2 separate regions of the Homo sapiens genome follow, and region 2 is linked to region 1. Evidence: promoter capture Hi-C in 16 types of primary human blood cells and fetal thymus (Javierre and others, 2016). All regions are on one chromosome and are shown on one strand. The core of a region is centred on a gene start or on the middle of the fragment in contact, and the rest is flanking DNA. Distances in the headings are between cores, read along the strand shown.

What was found. Contacts are between HindIII fragments. The CHiCAGO score rates a contact against its expected background, and 5 or more counts as called.
Region 2: a fragment that was not itself captured here is called in contact with the fragment with the promoter of RIPK2 in region 1 in 1 of 17 cell types (total B cells); the score reaches 5.6 in total B cells.

What each region holds. Positions count from the first base shown.
Region 1 is chr8:89,756,566-89,763,005 of GRCh38, forward strand. RIPK2 (receptor interacting serine/threonine kinase 2) reads left to right here and starts at 1,251. Exons shown (of 11, transcript NM_003821.6): 1 at 1,251-1,668; 2 at 6,264-6,417. The coding sequence starts at 1,496. PARAIL (palmitic acid regulated anti-inflammatory lncRNA) reads right to left here and starts at 1,146. Exons shown (of 5, transcript NR_125822.1): 1 at 480-1,146. RefSeq lists a silencer at 997-1,116 and enhancers at 1,657-1,726, 3,005-3,094. The HindIII fragment of the contact is 1,742 bases long and covers 66-1,807 here.
Region 2 is chr8:86,520,536-86,526,534 of GRCh38, forward strand. The region is part of intron 2 of CPNE3 (copine 3); the gene reads left to right. Among named protein-coding and RNA genes, the nearest start is that of CPNE3, 9.1 kb to the left of the region's middle. RefSeq lists enhancers at 2,753-2,852, 2,873-2,922. The HindIII fragment of the contact is 1,670 bases long and covers 801-2,470 here.

The DNA of each region.
Region 1 (6,440 bases), core at 1-2,500:
AGATCGCGCCACTACACTCCAGCCTGGGTGACAGAGCACGACTCCCTCTCGAAAAGAAAAAAAAAAGCTTATTAAGCAATAAAGCACAGAGTATCAGACCATATGTTTAGTGCTGAACATTTTATTATAAATGATCAAAAATGTTTAACATACTATTGTTTACAACCTCCCACTACTGTAAAATCTAACATTGCTACTTTCATTTCAGGTAATGCAAAAATACAAGAAGCATTAGCTGTCTGTAGGCAGAAATCTGTTCGAGTCATTCCTTATTACTGAATCCCTAGAATTAATTAAACATCTAGTATGGAGTTGGTATTGTATATAACATTTGCACTCACGTCTTACAAAATAGTCATCTAAGTAGAAAGGTATTCAAGGCAGAAGGATGGAAAAACGTTTGCAGTCTTTTTTGGTTGGCATGAAACACTGACTGCATTCCTCCCAGATTTATAAGAAAGAAATATTTGCAGTCTTACCTGGAGTTAGATGGATGGACTCTCTCAAGGTTATTTTTCAATCTCTGCACATACATACTTATGGAAGTAAGAAAGAAGAGGGAGAAAAGGCAGATCCCCCATAACAGCGGTTAAACACCTGAACTTGCTCCACTATGACAGGGTTTATCATCCACCTCTCAGTCCTCAAGTGGCTGGAAATATGGAAATTGGAGTCCAGGTAGACAGGTGAGTGTACAACCTCTTAAGTGTGGAGCCCTCGGAATTCACAACACTCCCCAAATCGCTTCCTGCGCAGGCGCGGAGTCGGAAGGGAGTCGGAAAGCAGACCCCGGTGCCCCCTAATAAAGCCCCCAGCCGGACGCTGCCGCTACCGGGGTTTGGCAACTTCCGGAAGACCTGTGGCCCAAAGGAGAATCCTGTTGGGGGAGGCGGGGGCCGGTGGTCGCTAACCAATCCGACACCCGCCAGCAGGCTGAAGAGAGGGGCTTTCCCAAAAGGAAAACTTTCCCAAACCTGGGGGATGGGAAGAGAAGACAAAAGGAGCTCCCTTTCCCACTTCCCAGCCGCCCGTCCCAGCCCTCGGCCTCCGCTGCGCGACCCGGGCGGAGGATCCCGGCCGCAGGCCGAGGCGAGAGCCAGGCGGGAGGGCCGCGAGCGGGCTGCCCCTCTCCCCGCCTTGCCGTCCGCCGCTGACGTAACCTGCGAAGTTTGGGGAGGGAGGAGCTCGGGCGGCCGGAGCTGGTCGCTGCGCGCGCCGGGGGGAGGGCCGGGGCTGCGAGAGAGGAAGCTCTTTCGCGGCGCTACGGCGTTGGCACCAGTCTCTAGAAAAGAAGTCAGCTCTGGTTCGGAGAAGCAGCGGCTGGCGTGGGCCATCCGGGGAATGGGCGCCCTCGTGACCTAGTGTTGCGGGGCAAAAAGGGTCTTGCCGGCCTCGCTCGTGCAGGGGCGTATCTGGGCGCCTGAGCGCGGCGTGGGAGCCTTGGGAGCCGCCGCAGCAGGGGGCACACCCGGAACCGGCCTGAGCGCCCGGGACCATGAACGGGGAGGCCATCTGCAGCGCCCTGCCCACCATTCCCTACCACAAACTCGCCGACCTGCGCTACCTGAGCCGCGGCGCCTCTGGCACTGTGTCGTCCGCCCGCCACGCAGACTGGCGCGTCCAGGTGGCCGTGAAGCACCTGCACATCCACACTCCGCTGCTCGACAGGTAGGCAGTCACTGGGGTTCCCTGGAAGAGCCCTCAACTCCTGCATCCCCTCAAGCCCCCTGACAAGCGGGCTCTAGAGCCCAAATGGCAGTGACCGCTTGGGGCCGGCCTCACCTCGTCACCTCTAGGGAGCCCTTCAAGCTTGGGAGATAGGGAGCACCCACCCTTCAAGCTCTGGCACCGTAGGGAGCACAGGCTTCTCTGGAGATGCAGCAGTTGCATTCCTCCACACATCTCTCCATTACCCTTTCTCTCCTTCCCTCTTACTCCTAGGCGTTCTGGCTCCGTACTCCAAAAATCAGCAATCACTGCCTAACTCTAAACGCTGGGTTTACTGAAATTGATGTGTGTTTATATATAGTGGGTGTGGGTTTTGTTTGCTTTGTTTTTTCCTTATTTTTGAAATTGGGCTGTAGGGCTGCACTGTCCAGTAGGTAGCTCTTAGCCACAGGTGGCTATTGAGCACTTGAAATGTGCCCGTCCGAATTGAAGTGTGACCTAAGTGTAAAATACCAGAGTTCGAATGCTTAGTATTTATTAAAAAAAGAACTTATAATATTTTATTATTTGTTTATTGATTATATGCTGAAATAACATTTTTGATATCTTGGGTTAAATATAAGATTAAAATTCATTTTATGTGTTTCTTTTTACTTTATGTGGCCACGAGAAAATTTTAAATTGTATGTGGTGGTGTTCACATTATATGTTTATTGGACCGCACTGCTTTAGAATCAAGGATGTTTTGCTTCTTATTGTTTTTATTTTGGTTTTGGTTTATTATGTGTTGTCAGGAACGTTTTATATCAAACTCAATACTAGCAGTTCAGTTTCTCCCAGTCTCAGTTTCTCTCACAGGGAAGATTAAGTAGAGGAAATGTGTGCTATTTTTGCCACAATAAATTGAACCAAAAGACTGTTAAATGGCCAGAAATTGTAAATGGCTTTCACTTATTGGTTTGTACAGGTTTTAAGGGAAGGTTAGCATTAGTTTCTGTTTTCAGAAGAACATTACAACCGCGTGCCATAGACCTGTGACTGTGTATTAGTCAATGGGTCACTAGTCTTGTGTATTTTACTTCCTACAGGGATTTAACTAGGCCCAGCATTCAGTTCTTAGTGAGTTAACATCCATGATTACAACATTCTCTTCTCCTCCTCCTATATCTAATGTGAAAATACGTCATCCCCGATGCCTGATTGGCCAGAAGCTGTGAGTATCCAGCATCAGATAAATTCCTCAGCTTCCGCCCTGCCAAAGTTACTGGATTTTCACCTGCCTGTGGCTTTTCTTCATTGTCTCTCACTGTCAGGCTTCGATGGCCTAAATGGCACAGGAGATTTGGGACACTTCTAGAGCTTGTTTCCACTTCTTGTCTATCATAATCCAGATTCAGTGATATACAAGGTGTGGTGTCTGTTTACTCCAGGCCTTATATTCTGTGGAGCAAGTGCTGGACAAGTGTGTATATGTGTCTGTAGTCAACTTTTAAGGGTGGTGGTTGGTTAGAGAGGGTGGATATATGTTAGAACCAGTTATGCAAACACTATATGGAAATGTAGCACTGATGGACCCATTAGGTATTGAAAAGCCAATTGATCCTCCCACTTTGGGTGCTGCTTCTCAGGATTTTGATTTATCTAAGCTTTGTGCAGTTTGGGGACCAAGAAGTGAAGAGGGAGTTTCCTTCCCATACTCATGAACAATTTTCATAGTCTAAAATTCTTCACTGAATTGGGTAGGAAATTAATTCTGTCTTCGAGGAAGCCATAAGACCAGCGAAACACTCTGGCATTTACTGCATCACATTCTTTTCTCCAATTTGTTACTTAAGATCTTATCATTGCAGTATTTATGTAGTCTGAGCATTAGATGAGGCTATGCAGTTGACTCACTGGTGTCTCTTTCCTCACTTATAAAATACGAATAATAAATACATGTGTTTCTCGGACTATGGAGAACAATGTTTGCATTGTTCTTTGGGATGACCTGAAAAAAAATAAGTTTATGCAATGTTACATGCTCTTATTTTAATGACTGGTGAATCAGTCTCCATAACCTGACTTCTATCCGATGAGTGGACCTTCCCCAACAATCTTCCCACCCCTTATGAGTAATGAGTCCAATTGGTTGTTCAAATACCCTGTAGATGACATAACTTTTCTGATTAAATTTTTGAGTTAATTTTGGTGATGTGACTATGGAAGCTGTACTTTACACCTTTATTTTCAAAATGTAAAAATCAATTTTTAAAATCTTTTGGCTTTAAAAAAAATTTCCCACTCACTCAATCTTGCCAAAAATCTACCTTCAAGAACTTTCCTACTATATTCTTTGATCAAGCAATAGGGTAGAAAGAATGCAGGCTTTAATGTCCCATGATTGCAATTCAAATCTGACGCCAACCCTGCCACTTATTAGTGTGACCATTAGAAAAGTATTAATTTTTCTGAGCCTTAGTGCCCTCATTTATAAAGTGGAGCTAATGAAACTATGTTTAGAGGGTGATCTTAAGATGCTAGTGCATATAAAGTGACTGACATGTAATAGGGTCACAGTGGAAAGAAGAATGCCTCTTAATGGGAGGAGGAAAGAGTGTGTGAAGTGTCACTGAGACTTCTGCAGCATGCACTCTCTATTGTTCTTAGTATCCAGGAATCTTCAGGGTCATCCTCTATTGTTGGCCTAAATCTCTTGGGGCAGATATGGAACTATTTCCATCTAGGGAATAAACATTTAATTAAAATGGGTCTCACAAACTGATACTGGTTTCCTAGCAGTTGGAGTATTAAGTGATTGAAGGACAGAGAATGAGAGAAGCTTTTCACTTTATGCCTTCTTGTTACTCTTGAATTTTAAGACATATAAATATATGACCTATTCAAAAAATAAATGACGAAGATTCTTTTGCTTTGTTTTTTTGTTTGTTTTTAAAAGTAGTCCTCTTAGTCTGGTCTAGAATGTCTGTTGCTATTCATATTTCAACAGCCATTCATTCAGAGCTTGGGAGGTGTAAGAACTAACTTATCATCATTACTTACCTAATAGGCTTCTCCTGGAAACATTTCTATTTCTGTCATTGCTGCAGCCAACATCCAGTCACTCAGGGTAAAAAAATAATGACATCTCCAATTCCTTTTCATTTTTTTTTTAACCCCCTACAGTCAGTCACTACAACGCGGGCATTCTATTCACTTAGTGTTTTTCTTTCCATTTCCACTGCTACCTTTGTAGTTTTAGGTTCATGTATTAACTGGTATTAAAATCTCCTAACACCTGACTTTCAAACTCTACCACTTTCTACTAATCCTACATCTTGTTGCCAAATTGATCATCTTAAAATTGTATTCTACTGTCATTCCCCAACTCAAAAACTTTCAGTCACACCAGGTACATTGGCACACCCCTGTAGTCCCAGCTACTCAAGAGGCAGAGTAGGGAGGGCCAGTCTGGGCGACATAGCAAGATCTGGTCTGTTAAAAAAAAAAAAAGTTTCCAGTGTGTATTCTGTATGTTAAAAAAAGCAAACAAACCGTCAATCACTTAGTGACTGCTAAGTGAAGTTTCACCACCCTAACCAGGCTTTAAGACTGAGATATGTCCCTAACCTGTCTTATTCACCTTCACTCCTTTTATATTACATAAAAGGAGTGCATTAAACAATTCACAATTTCCCAACTTTAGCCTTCCCTTTAATTTCCTTGAAATCATTTGATACCTACCTATTGGACGTCTGATACAATTGAGCCCAGGAGTTTGAGGCCACCCTGAATAACATAGTGAGACCTTGTCTCTACAAAAAAAAAATAGGCACGGTTGCATGCCTGTGGAGCTAGCTGGCTGCTGGGGAGGCTAAGGTGGGAGGATGGCTTGAATCCAGGAGTTTGAGGCTATAGTGAGCTGTGATCACACCACTGCACTCTAGCCAGGGTGACAAAGAAAAATAGAAAAAAAAATAGTTAAATATATATTTGTTTTACATATGAATAAACAAATGAACCTGGGAGCCAGTTACCCCAGCAGTCTATTAATATTATTGAGCATTTACCTGTTCTCAGTGATCTTTTCCTGAGTTCTGGTATATAATTTATAAATATTACTGACTTTTATGCAGCTATTGAATCTATAACATTTAAAGGTTTTAATATTCAGGATATTTGGAAAATGTTTATATGGTATGCAACCATAAAATTTAATATAATATTCTAATAAAACATGCTCATTTGAATACAATGTAAACTTAATCATGTAATTAGTTCAAGCACCAATTGTTCTAACATAGATAGACTTTATAAATTTAATACTATGTTCTTTCCCATTCCTGGGATAAGTACAATAATAATAAACCTGTGTTTAGCACTTTTACCTGTCAATGGCTTATAGAAGTTAGTTTGGTCTCTAAACAGACCTGTGGAATATATAGGGTAGGTATTATTTCTATTTTAAATATGATGAAACTAAGGTGCAGAGAAGTTGCATAATTTACATGAGGTCACATAGCTAATTAATGAAAAAAAATCCAGGCTTAGTCTTATAGGCATGATAATTGTATATTTTTTTATTACTTGAATAATTATGCATTTTTTTTTCTTAGTGAAAGAAAGGATGTCTTAAGAGAAGCTGAAATTTTACACAAAGCTAGATTTAGTTACATTCTTCCAATTTTGGGAATTTGCAATGAGCCTGAATTTTTGGGAATAGTTACTGAATACATGCCAAATGGATCATTAAATGAACTCCTACATAGGGTAAGTATTACACAGTTTTAGTG
Region 2 (5,999 bases), core at 386-2,885, 3.2 Mb before region 1:
AAGAGTGAAAGTCCATCTCAAAAAAAAAAAAGATTTAACAGCTGAAAAAACCTGAAGCCTGGAGAAGTTACAGCAGTTGCCCAAATGCCTGCCATTGTGGTGTGACTAACACAGAACCAGGCATTTCTTTTTTTTTTTTTTTGAGACGGAGTCTTGCTTTGTCACCCAGGCTGGAGTGCAGTGGCGCAATCTTGGCTCACTGCAACCTCTACCTCTGGGTTCAAGTGATTCTCCTGCCTCAGCCTTCCAGGTAGCTGGGACTACAGTGCACCATGCCCAACTAATTTTTGTGTTTTTAGTAGACACAGGGTTTTGCCATGTTGACCAGGCTGGTCTCAAACTCCTGACCTCAGGTGATCTGCCCAGTCCATTTCTTTTGACACCTGATCCAGTGATTCTTCCTTTTTGTTTCTTTTTTGTTTTGTTTTATGTATATTTATGCTTGACATTATTCCCTATCTTCATTTCTGGTATCCTGTGGTAGTGATTAAAAAAATACATCTGGGCATCACTTTGTTACTAAATACAGAACAAGCGTAGTTTAAATTCTTTTAATGTGAGTTTTTTACTCTCAGAGTCTGGATATTAAGTGCAGTATATTCCTGAGAATAAATGTTGCTGCTCTAAGACGATCTAATGGCACCTACACACATGGCAGACCTGTGTGTGTAGAGACACACTAGCAAGGAGAACTTGCTTTCTTAGCCTTAAGTAATTTACAATTTAATGGGTTATCTTGAAGAGGAACTGCTATGAGGTAAATAAAATATAAACCATTCCAGTTCTTCCATTCTTTGGCAAGCTTTTGTTATTCTGGTTACGTTTGTTTAAGAACCATATAACTAGTTTTAGCCTCAGTATTAACCTTGTAATTTTAAAGTTCCTATTTTATTAATTTGTGTCAGGCTGAATATTACTTTTGATATTAACAAGACTTAAGGAAATTAATAGAGAATATTGCTGTTATACTAAGTAACTATTTTTTGATATTGTTTTTAATTGAAAAATCATAATTGTTTACATCTATGGAGTTTATTTATTTTTACTAATACTATTTTTACTTGACAGCTAATTAACTATTAATTAGAGGCTTTAGTGCTCTGAAGGGATTTTGGCATAAAGGGGAAAATACCTGGGTTTATGCTGTGGTGGTGACACTTACTAGCTTTGTGATCCCATGTAAGTAATTTAACCTTTTTGAAGAAATTTATATTTTTTTCCTAATATATACTATGCATTATTTTGAAGATTAACAATGTGCTGAAAATTATCAACATATTCTGGGTCAATCAATTCAGACACTGGAGTGCCTTATATTATAGTCATACCTGTGACATATGGACCTTCCACCATGTAGTAATCATTATCCTGCCTAACTCACAGAGTTTTTGTAAGGTTCAGAAGATAATATATTATTTGGAAGCACTTTGAAAATTGTAAAAAAAAACAAAATCTGTCCAGTTGTATGGAATTATTAACTATCTTTTCTTTCCCCTTATTCTTCTACTCCCCACTTTCTTACTGTCTACCCTTGAATGTAAGGGTGAAAAAGAAATCTGGTAGTCAGTAGCAATAATACTGCAAATTCTTTTTGTAGTGGAGTATAGTTTTAATCGTCAGTAAAAGTAGAAATCTCTGGGGAGCTTCTTCAGCTCCAAGAGCACTTTGATTGTTCCCTGTCTGTACCACACAATTTTATACTCTTGTATACTATTTCTATGTATACATAGTTAGCTAAGTAGCTAAGTATTTATTTCGTTTTTGCCTCCCCCAACCCTCACTTTTGGAACACCTAGAAAGTATTCAGTAAGTAATTGTTTTATGAATGGGTCTCCCCAATTTGATTATAATGAGCTACAAGCGCTTCTGTTGCTGTATAATGTCCCTGCTGTCCTTAGCAAAATAATGGGTTTACAGTAACCTGGTAATAAATACATTTGCTAGTCTGACCTGGGAACTCTGAGGAGCATAGCAGCCTTTGGATTTACAGCCATATTACCTGACGCCCGCTGCTTTTTTTTTTTTTTTTTTTTTTTTTTTTTAGTAGGGGAACACTTATTACTATTCTGAGCAACACAATTTGAGAAACACTGCCTAGGGTGTGTTTTGCTGATGTTGCTGGGCCGGTTCCAGCTGCCCCAGGGTTGCCCTTGCTTGCTTTCAATAGCGGTCAGGCAGGATGTACTGCAGAATAGCAGTTAGTGAATCATGGTATTAGAACCAGAAAGAACTTCTGAGAATTTTTTACATTAGGCCAGTCTCTTCATTTTTCAGCTGAAGACTGAAGGAACTTTACTAAAGGGATTTGTAGATAGGCACCGACTTCTCCTTCACAATTGTTTTAGGACACATTTTGAGTCACTGACATGAGCCTGCGCTCCCCTCACCTGCGTACCTTATCTATACTCAAGGCTGACTATTTCACCAAATTAATTTTATGTAAATCCCAAAAATCATTATTGTTTCAAGAAGCTTTTCATAAGTAAGGATGAGAAAGCTGCTTTATGTCTTACTACTTAATAACAAGCCATCTATGCTGAGACAATCAATTAAAATCCCTGACTCAGTAATAAAATAATTGCTACAATTCATAGAGTGTCTATTATATGCTGAGCATGCTACAGACCTACAGTTGTCAGGGTTTTTATTAAGTTTATTTTTCTCTCTTAGCCTTATTTACATTGAAGGACTAGTGTCAGGGTTTTTTAATATCCCCATTTTATAAATTAGGAAATTGAAGTTCAGATAGACAATTTGGCAGAGGTGACACATCCAAATTAGTGATGGGAAAGAAATTTGAATGACACACGCTGACTCCAGCATTATTGCTCTTTCTGCTACAAATAACCTGTGCCAGATGTCATGCTTCAGGAAGAAGAGGAAGTGGTAAAATATGTTCGCTGCCCACAGTTCACAGTATATAGACGGAGTGATGAGCCACAAATACAAGTAACAATAGTGGAAAGAAAATAGAATCAGTGCCATAACAGCATGAGGGGTATCAGCAGGGTATCAGCAACAGCTGTATGAATGAAGTATCATTTGAAGTGTTTGTTTTGTTTTGTTTTGAGATAGAGTCTCACTCTGTCGCCCAGGCTGGAGTGCAGTGGTACCATCTCGGCTCACTGCAACCTTCACCTCCTTGGTTCAAGTGATTCTCCTGCCTCAGCCTCCCGAGTAGCTGGGATTACAGGCACCTGCCACCACACCTGGCTAATTTCTGTATATTTAGTAGAGACAGGGTTTCACCATGTTGGCCAGGCTGAGTTCTTGAACTCCTGACCTCAAGTGATCCCCCTACCTCGCCCACCCAAAGTGCTGGGATTACAGGTGTGAGCCACCGTGCCCGGCCTGAAGTGGATCTTGAAGAACTTGGGTGGGCAGAGGTAGCTGTTCAGGTAGATTAGGGGTAGATGTTGGCAGAGCCATGAATTCCAGGCTTAGTTCATTGGACTATCACTTTTTAATCAGAAGTGATAAAACCATAATGTGAATGGAGAGAAAATGGCAGTGGGAATACCCATTAGGAGACTATTATATAAGGCAGGTGAGAGATACAGAAGACCTGAAGTTAGGGTTGTGACTCTGGGTATGGGAAAGCGGCTGTATCTCCATGTTTGGGAGAGATTTGGGGTTCTAGTAGGCAGAATCTCTATGACATCTTTACTGGATAAATCTAAGAGTAGGTTTAAGGAGGAATGGGAAAAGAGGAAGTAGATAAGACTTCAGGATTTTCAGCCAGGGCATGGGAATGACCAGATGCCTTAAATTTCACATATCAGGTACCACTTTAAATATTAGGTCTTAATTCTCAGCTCCTTATGTTTATCTCTGTTATAATATTGATTCAGAACGTTAGGGTGACTGGGAGAATTATTGATATATTTGGTGTTTCTAGGGATTATTTGCATTTCAGAAGACGTGTTTGGATCAAATTTTGTCCAACAAGTAATAATCTGTACAGTAGGGAAGCTGTTGTCTAATCCTAGGGATTATTTGTGTTTTCTATCCTGCTCTTTAAGGAGTAAAATACTACATAGAATTCTTCTTTAGTTGCTCATGCATTCTTTGCCAGGTGACTTATCCCAGCCAAATCTTTCATACTAAAAGAGTATAAAACGTTTGTTTTATTTTTCCTCATCATAATTTTTTTTTTTTTTTTTTTTGCGACAGGGTCTTGCTCTGTCACCCAGGCTGCAGTGCATAGCTTACTGTGGCCTCGAACTCCTGAACTTGAGTGAGCCTCCTGCCTTAGCCTACTGAGTAGCTGGGACTACAGGTGCATGCCACCTTGGCTGGCTAATTTTTTCATTTTTCTTTCTTTCTTTCTTTCTTTTTTAGACGGAGTCTTGCTCTGTCGCCCAGGTTGGAATGCAATGGCGTGATCTCACTGACCGAAACCTCCGCCTCTGAGGTTCAAGTGATTCTCCTGCCTCAGCCTCCTGAGTAGCTGGGATTACAGGCATGTACCACCATGCCTGGCTAATTTTTGTGTTTTTAGTAGAGACGGGGTTTCACCAGGTTGGCCAGGCTGGTCTCAAACTCCTGACCTGGGATAATCCACCTGCCTCGGCCTCCCGAAATGCTGGGATTACAGGTGTGAGCCACTGCGCCCAGCCTAAAATTTTTTGTTTTTGTAGAGATGAGGTCTCTGTTGCTCAGGCTGGTCTTGAACTCCTGGGCTCAAGCAATCCTACTGCCTCAGCCTCCCAAAGTGCTGGGATTACAAGTATGAGCCAATATGCCCAGCTCCCATTATGATTTGTGGATAAAGTATACTATTGCTCTCTTAAAAAATTGTATATCATGTACTGGATAATTACATTAAAAGGAAATGAAAACAGTATCTTCATGAATATTACCATTAACAAGATTCCAGACCCTAGTGTTTATGTAATTTCTTCCATTTGCCATTCAGCCATAATGGGTTTCAGGATAACATTGAGACCAGCACAGAGTCATTTTTCAGAGAGGAATGCTGCTAATAGAAGAAATTTGTTTCCTGGCAGCAATGCAGTAGTATAACTGTCAGCAATTGGTTAAATAATCAGCTGTGCCTGGCATGTTGTTTTTGTAGCTTTTGTATAAGCATTTTTAGGGAAAAAAATAATGCTCTTCTGATATGTGGTGTCTCTTTGCTGTGAGACTGACTTCACATGTAGATGTCTTCATTCTCTGTTGAATTCTTCCCATCCTTGGAAATTTGAAGACTTTTCTGCTGGCTGGTAGAGAATCCTCTACATGTTTTTTTGGGGGAAGCTTTAGCTATTGTTGCTCATTCTATGTTCATCCACAGGGCACTGCATTATGCTTGATATTGCTGACATACAACTTACAAGACTCTAAACTACCTTATGCAAAAAAAAATCATACAACTCACATTTATTTTACAGATTCTGTATTAGATGCAAAAAAACAGTATGCCTGGCACGTGCCAGATTTACAAATTTACTTGCATTATCTCCATTTTTACTGATGAGGAAATCTAGGCCCAGGAAGTTGAAGTTACTTATACGTGGTCACACAGCAAGTGCCAGATGGAGGGTTCAACCGGGCGGTGGCGGGCACCTGAAATCCCAGCTACTTGGGAGGCTGAGGCAGAGAATTGCTTGAACCTGGGAGGCGGAGGCTACAGTGAGCTGAGATCGCGCCACTGCAGTACAGCCTGGACGACAGAGCAAGACTCCGTCTCAAAAAAAAAAAAATTGGGTGTGTGCATTACCCCAAATTTGATCTTGTTCCTGTAATGCAGTAATCTGTTACTATTAGTGCAATAGGAATTCAAAGGAACACCTTAGTATGGATTGGAATAATCAGGATAATCATGGAATGGAATAATAAAAAAATATGAAACATGGGATAGATAAGATAGGATCAGACCCTAGAGGCAGATAGTGATAAAATGATAATAAAATGTGAGCACTTACTGTATACTAGGCACATATATAAATATATAAGATACATATTTTTTGTTTGTTTGTTTTGTTTTTTTTTTGAGA